Regions from separate parts of the Homo sapiens genome. Here region 1 is linked to region 2. The links are contacts of gene promoters, found by promoter capture Hi-C in blood cells and fetal thymus (Javierre and others, 2016). All regions are on one chromosome and are shown on one strand. Each heading gives the region's core, a stretch centred on a gene start or on the middle of the fragment in contact. The rest is flanking DNA. Distances are from core to core; before and after follow the strand shown. Region 1 overlaps LOC105374211 (a long non-coding RNA gene). Region 2 holds the start of SLC7A14 (solute carrier family 7 member 14).

Region 1 (4,758 bases), core at 1,286-3,785, 250 kb after region 2:
GCTCATTTGAATGGAATGATATTCCACTGTCTGCATCTACTGCAGTTTATTTGTCCATTCACCTGCTGAAGGGCATCTTGGTTACTTCCAAAGTTTAGCAATTATGAAAAAAACTGCTATAAACATTCATATGCAGGTTTCTGTCTAGACATAAGTTTTTAACTCCTTTAGGTAAATACCAGGGAGCATGATTGCTAGATTGTATGGTAAGAGTACACTTAGTTTTGTAAAAATTTGGCAAATTGTCTTCCAAAGTGGCTGTACCATTTTGCATTGCCATCAGCAATAAATGAGAGTTTTTATTGCTCCACATCCTCACCAGCATTTGGTGTTCTGGATTTTGGCCATTCTCATAGATGTGTTATGTTCAGCAGTCTGTTTTAACAAACCCTCAAGGTGATTCTGGTGCACTAAACATTGAAAACCATGACTGTGGACAGATCTTCTCTCATAGAAGTAGCCCTCCCAGCTGGTCCTGATTCAATCTGCTGACCTTGTAATGAAACAGAATAAAGAGGAGGACAATGGGGAGGAAAGCAGTGTTTATTGAGCGACCACAACATGCCAGGCACTGTATCATTATAATTTCATTTTATTCTTCCATAGAAGCTAAGAAATTTTTACTCTTGTCCCCATTTTAAAGATTTTTTGAAATGAGATTCCAAGCCATAGTAATGTTTAAGCTTACAGACCTACTAAGTAGTGAGTTCACATTAGGGAATTTGAAAAGTACAAAAGTTATAAAGAAGAATATAGGAATTACCCACAACCCCATTCAAAACAACATTATTATTTAGTGTAAGTCCTCACAGTATTTTTTTTTTCCTGTGTAAAACTCCTTTGGATTTCAGGCTGCTCTGTGGTCTCTCATAGAATTTAGGCTCCAGAGTGGGTCCTTTGCTCTGAGATCTGAAGACCTAGGAACTAATGCCTCCACCTTCAGCTTTGTTCTAATCTCTCCTAAAAGCAAGTATCTAGATCCTTTTATTCTCCCTACATCCCTACATTTGATAATATACAGAAGCAAGAGCTTAGTAAATCAAACAAGTGAGCTGAAGTAGGTGCTGAAAGTTGACCTAAAACAAACTGGGAGCTAAGACTCTACTCCAAGACAGAACAGAAATGGACTTGGAGCCAGATATAGAACAAGTTATTTATGCTCAGTTCTCTAGGAAAAGGATGGAGGCTTGTTCTGAGATGTGTGCATCTTGTGCTGGGGGCTGGAGGGAGCTGCTGTTCCTGGAACACTCTGCAAGTGTCTGTTCTGGGAGGGGCATCATGGTCGCTGCATCCCAAGCCAGGCATATTGTGCATCAGAGTCAACGAATGGAAGTCATCAGAATTCTGGATGACACTCTGTGATGCTTGGATGGTTCTCTACTTAACCCCCTGTGGAGGCTGCTGTGTATCTGTTTCATGCCAGACTCGGAGAAAATAGTAAAGATAAAAGACAGAAGGCTTATAGCTGTTTTCATAAAGTGTTTGTTTTCCTTGCTGTTAAGACCACTTGTCCAAGTGAATCATTTGGGGTTATATTTTACTAAAGCACCTCAAAAAAAGCCAAAATATTTTTAGAATCTATAGCTGTGGGTGATCCAAACATAATGAGCTTCCTCCTTCTGAAAAAAAAAAAAAAAAAAAAAAAAAACAGAAAGAAAAGAAAAAAGGAAAGCCTAGGTTTTTTTTCCTCCAACCCTGCCTCTGAGTTTGAAACCTACAAGCAATTGCTGCCCCTCCCTCCCAAACCCTTAGTTTTTACCCAACATAAAATGAAAATGAAGATAACATGGAAGGATTTCATGACAGAGATGTGTCATATTCAGGCTGTGGATAATTGAAATTTACGATTAACAATTTTGTCAGAAGAATGCCTTTTAGTCCCCGGGGTCCTTTATTGTGTATGCTAATAGGACAATTTAGGATAAAGACAGGGAGTGGGTTATAAAGAGAAAAGCTTCATTATGTAAGTTAAGGAGTAATACAACGCATTCACTAATGAGAAGTTTTAACATATTTTACTTATCTACATTTGAACAGACAATACATTCATATAGTTCAAAACTCAGGCTGGGTGCATTGGCTCACGCCTGTAATCGCAGCAGTTTAGGAGGCCAAGGCAGGTGGATCACCTGAGGTCAGGGGTTTGAGACCAGCCTGGTCAACATGATGAAACCCCATCTCTACTTAAGAAAAAAAAAAAAAATTAGCCAGGCATGGTGGTGCGCACCTGTCATCCCAGATATTCGGGAGGCTGGGGCAGGAGAATCGCTTGAACCTGGGAGGTGGAGGTTGCAGTGAGTCGAGATCACACCACTGCACTCCAGCCTGGCGACAGAGGGAGACTCTGTCTTAAAAAAAAAAAAAAAAAAAAAAAATCAAACTGTATGAAAGGATAGGGAATGAAAAGAACCCTTTCACATCCTTGTTCTTCACCCCCAGCTTTCCTGAGGCCATGAGAGCTACCAGAGTGTTTGGTATGCTGTCAGATGTGTGCTATGGATAAACCAGCAACACACACATATTCTTATACTCTGTTTTTTAATGCAAATGGCAACATTCACTACACTTTGTTCTATGCCTTGTTTCTACACCTGAGGATGTCTCTTAAATGTTTTTGTTTCAATGTATAAAGAACTTCCACGTACATGAGCCCTACCTTAGAATCATCCCCCATAGTAGAGGTTTCTCTTTTTTTTTTTTTTTTTTTTTTTTTTTTTTGAGACGGAGTCTCGCTCTCGCCCAGGCTGGAGTGCAGTGGCGCGATCTCGGCTCTCTGCAAGCTCCGCCTCCCAGGTTCACGCCATTCTCCTGCCTCAGCCTCCCGAGTAGCTGGGGCTACAGGCACCTGCTACCACGCCTGGCTAATTTTTTTGTATTTTTAGTAGAGACGGGGTTTCACCATGTTAGCCAGGATGGTCTCGATCTCCTGACCTCGTGATCCGCCCGCCTTGGCCTCCCAAAGTGCTGGGATTACAGGCGTGAGCCACCGCGCCCGGCCGGTTTCTCTTCTTTTATTGTTTTCTGCCTCTGCTTTCATTGTAAGCCTTCTTTAGTATTCATCTTTTATTTCATCCGGCTTAAAGGAAGAAGACCAGATCTTTGTGCAGTAGGGACCCTAAGCTTTGAAGAACTCTAGTGATAGCAGGTCAGAAGAAAATTCCTGAGATTGGGAGCTTGCACCTTTCTGAAGAAACAGACATGCAACAGGATGTAAGGAGAAAGGAGTAGAGACGAGACAGGAAATGGAATCAAGAAGAAAGACAAAGGCAGTGGGAAAGAACCAGGCATTTGCAATAATATAGATAATTTGGGTGACTGAACTAGTAAAAACCTGTTTTTCTGTGTGAGAAGTCTGTGTTAAATGTATAGAGGCAGCTAATATATTAGAGCAGTAGAGAGGAATTATGCTGATGTACAGACTGAAATGTACATGATTAGCTCTAGAGATTAATATAGTCTCTATAGATGTGACTGTACGTTGATGCAGTTCTAATGGCTGATTTGGAAAATAAAATCAAAATGATTAAAAATGTACCTGAGGCCAGATGCAGTGGCTTACACCTGCAATCCCAGCATTTTGGGAGGCTGAAGTGGGAGGATCGTTGAGGCCAGGAGTTCAAGACCAGCCTGGGCTACATAGTGAGACCTCATCTCTACCAAAAAAAAAAAAAAAAAAAAAACCCACAAAAAACACCCACAGTATAAAATTGCCCATAAACTGCAATTATTTTAAGGAAACAATAATGAACAAAGTTGTCACATCATTTACAAAAGCAAAAATTTAGAAACATCTAAATATCCAATGTAGTGGGTTAATGTAGTAAATTATTGTGTATCCATAAACTGAAATACTATCAGCTATAAAATATGTGTTTACAGGTATGGGAGAATGTTCTCCATACATTTCTAAATTAAAAGAATAATTATACAGCTAAAAGGCTACTCTGTATATCTATTTTATTGATTTAATTTCTTTTCTTTTTTTTTTTTTAATTTTTACAAACAGGGTCTCACTGTGTTGCCCAGGCTGGAGTGTAGTGGCATGATTATCACTCACTGTAACCTTGAACTCCTGGGCTCAAGTGATCCTCCCACCTCAGCCTCCCAAGTAGCTAGGACTACAGGAGTGCACCACCACGCCCACACCTAGCTATTTTTTTTTTTTTTTGTAGTGATGGGGGTCTTTCTATGTTGCCCAGGCTGATCTTGAACTCTTAGCCTCAAGCAATCCTCCTGGGATTATAGGCGTGAGTCACCATGCCCTGTCTATATATTTATTTTAGTATATTAATAATAGCAAATGTTTATTGAGATTCACCATTTACCAGAAGCTCTTTGTGGTGTTTTAAACTCATTAAAACTTACAATCCATAAATTAGGAGCTACAATAATTTCCAATTTGCCCACAAGAAAACTAAGGCACAGAGCAGTTGAGCAACTTGAGTAATAGTTGGCACGTGGAAGGGCTGCATCTTTGACCCTGCTTTTCTAGCTATAGAGCCAGGTCCACATGTGATAATGCCTACCTGTGTAGTGAAAAACCTAGGTAACAAAATAGAATTCGGTTTTTGAACAGTGACCAATGCGGGGGATAATGTATCTCTGCATGGGAAGAAGTTATCCTCAGTGGGGGACTGAGGAGGTGGGTGTGAGGGGATTTTGCCTGTGTTGCAATGGTTTATTTCTGATAAGCCTAATATGGATAACTAAAATCAAGGGTAAAAAACTAAATTTAAGGAGACCTGGAAAGGACCAAAA
Region 2 (4,915 bases), core at 2,081-4,580:
GAGCAAAACAGTGTCATTTGAACTGAATTTGAATTTCTAAATGCTATGTTTTGGAGCAGGATGGAACTATCAATTAAATACAAAAATCCAATTGATGAAGATGAGACTTTACTATGAGCTGGAAAGAGAAGAAAGAGGAAATGAACAGAACATCAGGTTCTGCTGTATGTTAGAGCGAACTAGAATCCTAGGACCATCTTTAGTGGAGCCACCTACTTGACAGAATTGTGATAATTCAGTAAAATGATTGATGAAATAACTTCACATAGTGCCTCACATATGATAAGCATTTCATAGATATTAGCACTTATAATGATCTTTATTTATAAAAATCCTTAGGTCTTATTAGGGCCTTTTCCCAGTCCCTATGAGAACATGGGCAGTTGCTTAGGGTAACCAATTTTGGGAAAATTATTTTTTGGGGAATAGGTCATAGAAGAGGAGATATAGACAAGATAGGGCAAGTAAAGAAATGACACACTACCATTCCCATTTGTGAATTGCTGCTTCAGAGAAAACTGTTACTGAGGAAGGTGGGTCATATCTCCCAGGTATGTTGGGTTAGACAACACTGGAATAGTAGGACCAGAGGGGAAAGAGCTGGAAGACAAAGGAGTTGGAAGAAAGGTAAGAGGAATGCTTGTATGTTAAGTGTTTGTATTTTTGGCATGTTGTTTAATTTAGTTCACTGATGCTGACGTTTAGTCAAAGATAATCAAAGAAAGCAGTATGGAAGAGTATTTCAGACACCATGAAATAGTGGGAAAGGCCCTGGGCCTGGAATCAAGTTAACTGGGTTCTAATTTTTCAATCATGTGACTTAGACTAATGACCATCTTTTGGTTTCCAAGTTTTCTTTCTTGTAAAACGATGGTGCTAAATGATATTCAAAGCTATTCTAGTTCTAAAATTCAACAGTATAATTCTAAATATGAAAGTACATGTGGACTCTAGTTCTCCAGACTTCCTGAAGCCCTGCTACTCTTTTAGAAAAGGCTGCTGGTTTAGTTCTCTAACTTGTTTCCATAATATTGGAGCTGAAGTTGTGTGAACAGTGGTATCTCAAGCAGCATGCAAAAGCAGTTGGGAGGGTGGGAGTGCATGACAGTGAGTGGGTGAACGGATTAAAGAGAAAAGGGTTGGAAGAGAGGAGAGTGTGTGAAAGAGAAGAGCAGGCCTCCCTCCTTTGTCATTCTCCTGCTATAATCTCCAATAACAGCTATTCAGAGCCAAATACCAAAATGAAGGCATGAAAATGGCTTGGACTTTGAGTTAAATAGATCTGATTTTGAATCCAATCTCTGGAATCAAGTTTCTGTTTCCTTCTCTGTGTGATACTTTTGGTTGGCAGCTATTGTGAAGTTTAAATGAAATATTATTACCCAGCAGATAGAGGTGTTCAGTACAAATAGGCCTCCCCAAATTGGCTCAATCCTTTCCCCATCTTGCCCATAATATAAAAGACTAGCTAAAGAAACAAACATACAGGGCTGCTTAGCGATCTTTATCTAGAGCATGTAAATAACATGCAGTGGGGAAAGAAGGGTTCTAAGAAGAGGAAAAAGCTACAACCATGAAGCCCCTCCTTTGTGTAGCCTAACAATTCTCTGATTCCTGAAAGCCACAGAAATGTTTATTATCAAAACAGCATCCCTAACTGCCTTTCAACACTTTACCGACAGGAAGTCTCACTGCTCAGGTATAGGAAGTAGAACGAGGAAGCTCCCGAAGTTAGCAAAACTGGATCCTGAAGTGACACCCGCTTCCTGCTCTTCCACTCAGGAAAGCCGGGAACCTTTTCCCAAGCGGAGTCCTGGGGAAGCAGAAAACCGGGAAAGGCAAAGCCCCTTCTTCTCCTGTTTCTCTAGGTCGCTTGCTTAGAACCCTTTAGGGTTCTAACGCAGTTTCTGCTCGCAGGGAATGTGGGCCCTGGCGGTATTAGCACCCAGCCTCTGAGAACTTTCAGCACCGCGGACAGCGCCATTCCCTGCACTCAGTCGGAGGAGGAGAGCTACCTTGCCCCCAGCGCTCTCCTAGACCCTATACCTAGGGGGAGGCAGGGTGACATCCTGCGGCCCTTGGGCAATTCGGGCCAGTGACGTTCACCGACACTCAGGCGGGGATCCCTTCGCCAGAGCCAGTTCCTTTGAGTGTCTCCGCTCAAAATCTCAAGGAAACGAGCTTCACACAGGTGGGGGGATGAGGAGTGCCAGAACAGGAGCGAGCCCCGCTGCTCTAGCCTTCCTGCATCTCTTCTCGCCTTTGCTTTGCTCACTCTTCAATCGCAATATAAAATACTCATTTGGGGAGGGGGCAGGGTGACACAGGAGAGAGAAGGAGGGTGGGGGCTGCATCCCGCGTGGCCACGCAGCCCTAACCTGGCCCTCTTGGATTAGAGGGGAGCTGATGTGCTTTGGAATGGGAGAAGAGAGGAGACTGAGGGTTGAAGCAGTGCAGGAGAGCTCCCCTTGCTGGGGCTGCCGGCTCTGGGCAGGGAGCTTCCCTGGACACCGCTCCCGTCACGTCCTCTTCGCCGCTCCCGGGAGAGTCACCACTCTCCGGGGACAGACGCCCCTCGGGGCGCCACCATCCTGGTCGGGGTGCTGGGCTCGGCGGGAGTCCCTTTGAGGAGTTTGCTCCCAGGTAAAAGGGCAGACGTTGCTCCCGACCTCCCCGGAGTCTGCGGCCGGAAAAGCGTCTCCGTTTCATGGTCTCGGTCCGAGGCGGAGAACGGAGCTGCCCGTGCGGGGTGCGCGCCAAGGCGGGGGACAGGACGGGCCCGGCGTCTGCCGAGACCTAGGCTGCCCGCATTCCGCTCGCGGCTCCCCTTCTGCCTCCCGCTCTAGCGGCGCCGGAGCCGCGCTGGCCCCCGCCCCGCCCGGCAGCTCCCGCGAGTCAGAGCCCGGTGCCCCCAGACCGCGGGCAGTCGGGGCCTCATTCCGGGCCAGAGCAGGAAAGAGCCCGACCCACCTCCTCGGTTCTTCCAGGGAACCCCTTCTCGGAGGGCGCCCTGGGCCTCCGCGCCATATTCCTGGTCCCCCGCTCCCGGTGACTCCGGCTCCCTGGGTCATTCCGGGAGAGGCGGCCATCCCAGTTGCAGGGGTCCCGCTGGGGCGCGGGGGGCGCGGAGGGGGACAAACGGCAGCGAAGGGGGCCGTTCACTTACCGGGGTCGGGGCTGGAGGCGACGAGCTGGCTGCCAAGGCTGGTGGCTGGCAGTCCGCACTTACTGCGCGGAGCTGTCTCTCTAGCTGGGATGGGAAGTGGTGGTGGCGGCAAAGGAAGGCAGGAGGCAGCCGCTGCTGCTGAACAGCTCCTCAATTATTCAGATTGGGCCCCCACCCCCCGAACCCCTCCCCGTGCCTGCTCGTCCTCCCTCCAGCTCGCCTGTCTCCGCCTCCTTGGAGTCACATGGCCTGCCCAACCCCTTACATACTGGGCCCAAGCCTGGCACCAGACCACCTCCCACCTGGCCCCCCTGCCTTCCCCTCTGTCTGCCGCTCACAACTCCTCGCTGGCCTTCTGAGCCTCCAGTTGTGACCTCCAGTGTCTTATGTCAGGCTGCAGGGAGGTTGAGGGGGCCGTGGATGGGGGCAGTTCTTTGCCCTGGGAAAGCAGGGACCAGCAGGACTCTGCAATGTCTGTGCGTTGGGAAGGCATCTGCCGCAGCTCTGCCCCTGCTAGACTGGGCTGTCCAGACCTCCTTCCTGCCCTCTGGAAGCTTCCCTCATCCTCTGCGGAGCCTTCGTTGCTCTTAAACTTCCACATCCCTGAGCCCTACAGGAAAGAAAAAATGAGAGAGGTTGATTTCTCCTCTCCTCCTAAAGAAGACAAGACCCACCTCTGTCTTCAAAGCTTAAGTTTATCGTTGGGTTCACAACATCTTATGGGTGCAAAGATCATGGACTTGAGATTTGAAGAGCCATTAGGATTCCAATCTGTATGACCTTGGAGCATTTAACTTTCTAGCTTTTCTTCTCTCGTCTGTGAAATAACCACCTTGCAGTATTGTCATGAGATTGAGAAATCATCATGTTCTTAGAATTGCCTAGCCTAGAGTTGGACAGGTATTTGGAGCTCAATAAAGGAGAGTTCTTTTTCCCCCACCTTTGTTAAAATAAATTTCACAAGGCAAGAAGGATGTGATGTGTGCTAATACAGTGAAAGCATCTTTTAAACATGGAAGGAGGCATCTGTGAGGTCAGGCTAGACAAGTACCAGTCTAAACGGAGACAAGAGTGAGATAAGGTTTCTGTTTTGTATTAGCTCCTTTAAGATGAGTGTCCTAGAGCCAGGTTATGTCCCAAAAGGATTGGGACTAGATGGGACCAACCCAGGCATGCTTGGCCACATCACCGAATGAATTATTTAACAAGCATTGAGTAGACTGATTTGGATGAAAGTTATCTACATAAATTCTTGCACTTTGGCCCAAGCCCTCAAAACACATGGGAGGCAACAAAATGTAACTCTCCTATCCTTGGAAATGAATTCACTGGGCTTGTGTTTGGGGAGAATACTGGCTGACTGATACTCCTCTAGGGTGGAGCAGTTCAAATCTAGCTCTACTTTGTGGGTCTGCCCTGGGCTCTTCCCAGAAAGTTGCTTGATCATTGCCAGGACAGTCTTGGTTAGTCCACCTACCTCAAGCTTGTTACTGCCTTCGATGAGCATCTAAGCCTGACAATATCCCCATATTTTAAGCTTTGAGTAGTTCTGCAGGATATGTTAGACCTCCTGGGATCACCAAGAAGCTGTGAGACATTGTAGGAAAAGTGCAAAGTTAAAAAATCAGAAATTTGGAATCTCAGTGCAGGTTCTGCCAGCTACTTATCATATGATTTTTCACAAATCACTTAAATTGTCAGACTCTCATCTTCAGAATGGGAAAGGAATGTCTACCTGCCTTCTATATA

The links. The method cuts DNA at HindIII sites, captures the fragments that hold promoters and counts their contacts. A CHiCAGO score of 5 or more calls a contact.
Region 1: a contact is called between a fragment that was not itself captured here and the fragment with the promoter of SLC7A14 in region 2, in 1 of 17 cell types (endothelial precursors). The highest score is 5.5, in endothelial precursors.

What each region holds. Positions count from the first base shown.
Region 1 is chr3:170,834,230-170,838,987 of GRCh38, forward strand. It overlaps LOC105374211 (a long non-coding RNA gene), which reads left to right. Exons shown (of 3, transcript XR_924701.2): 3 at 3,084-3,394. Among named protein-coding and RNA genes, the nearest start is that of RPL22L1, 34 kb to the right of the region's middle. RefSeq lists an enhancer at 1,074-1,637. The HindIII fragment of the contact is 1,166 bases long and covers 1,953-3,118 here.
Region 2 is chr3:170,582,745-170,587,659 of GRCh38, forward strand. SLC7A14 (solute carrier family 7 member 14) reads right to left here and starts at 3,331. Exons shown (of 8, transcript NM_020949.3): 1 at 3,167-3,331. The region is part of intron 2 of SLC7A14-AS1 (SLC7A14 antisense RNA 1); the gene reads left to right. RefSeq lists a silencer at 1,816-2,110. The HindIII fragment of the contact is 6,611 bases long and covers 1-3,718 here.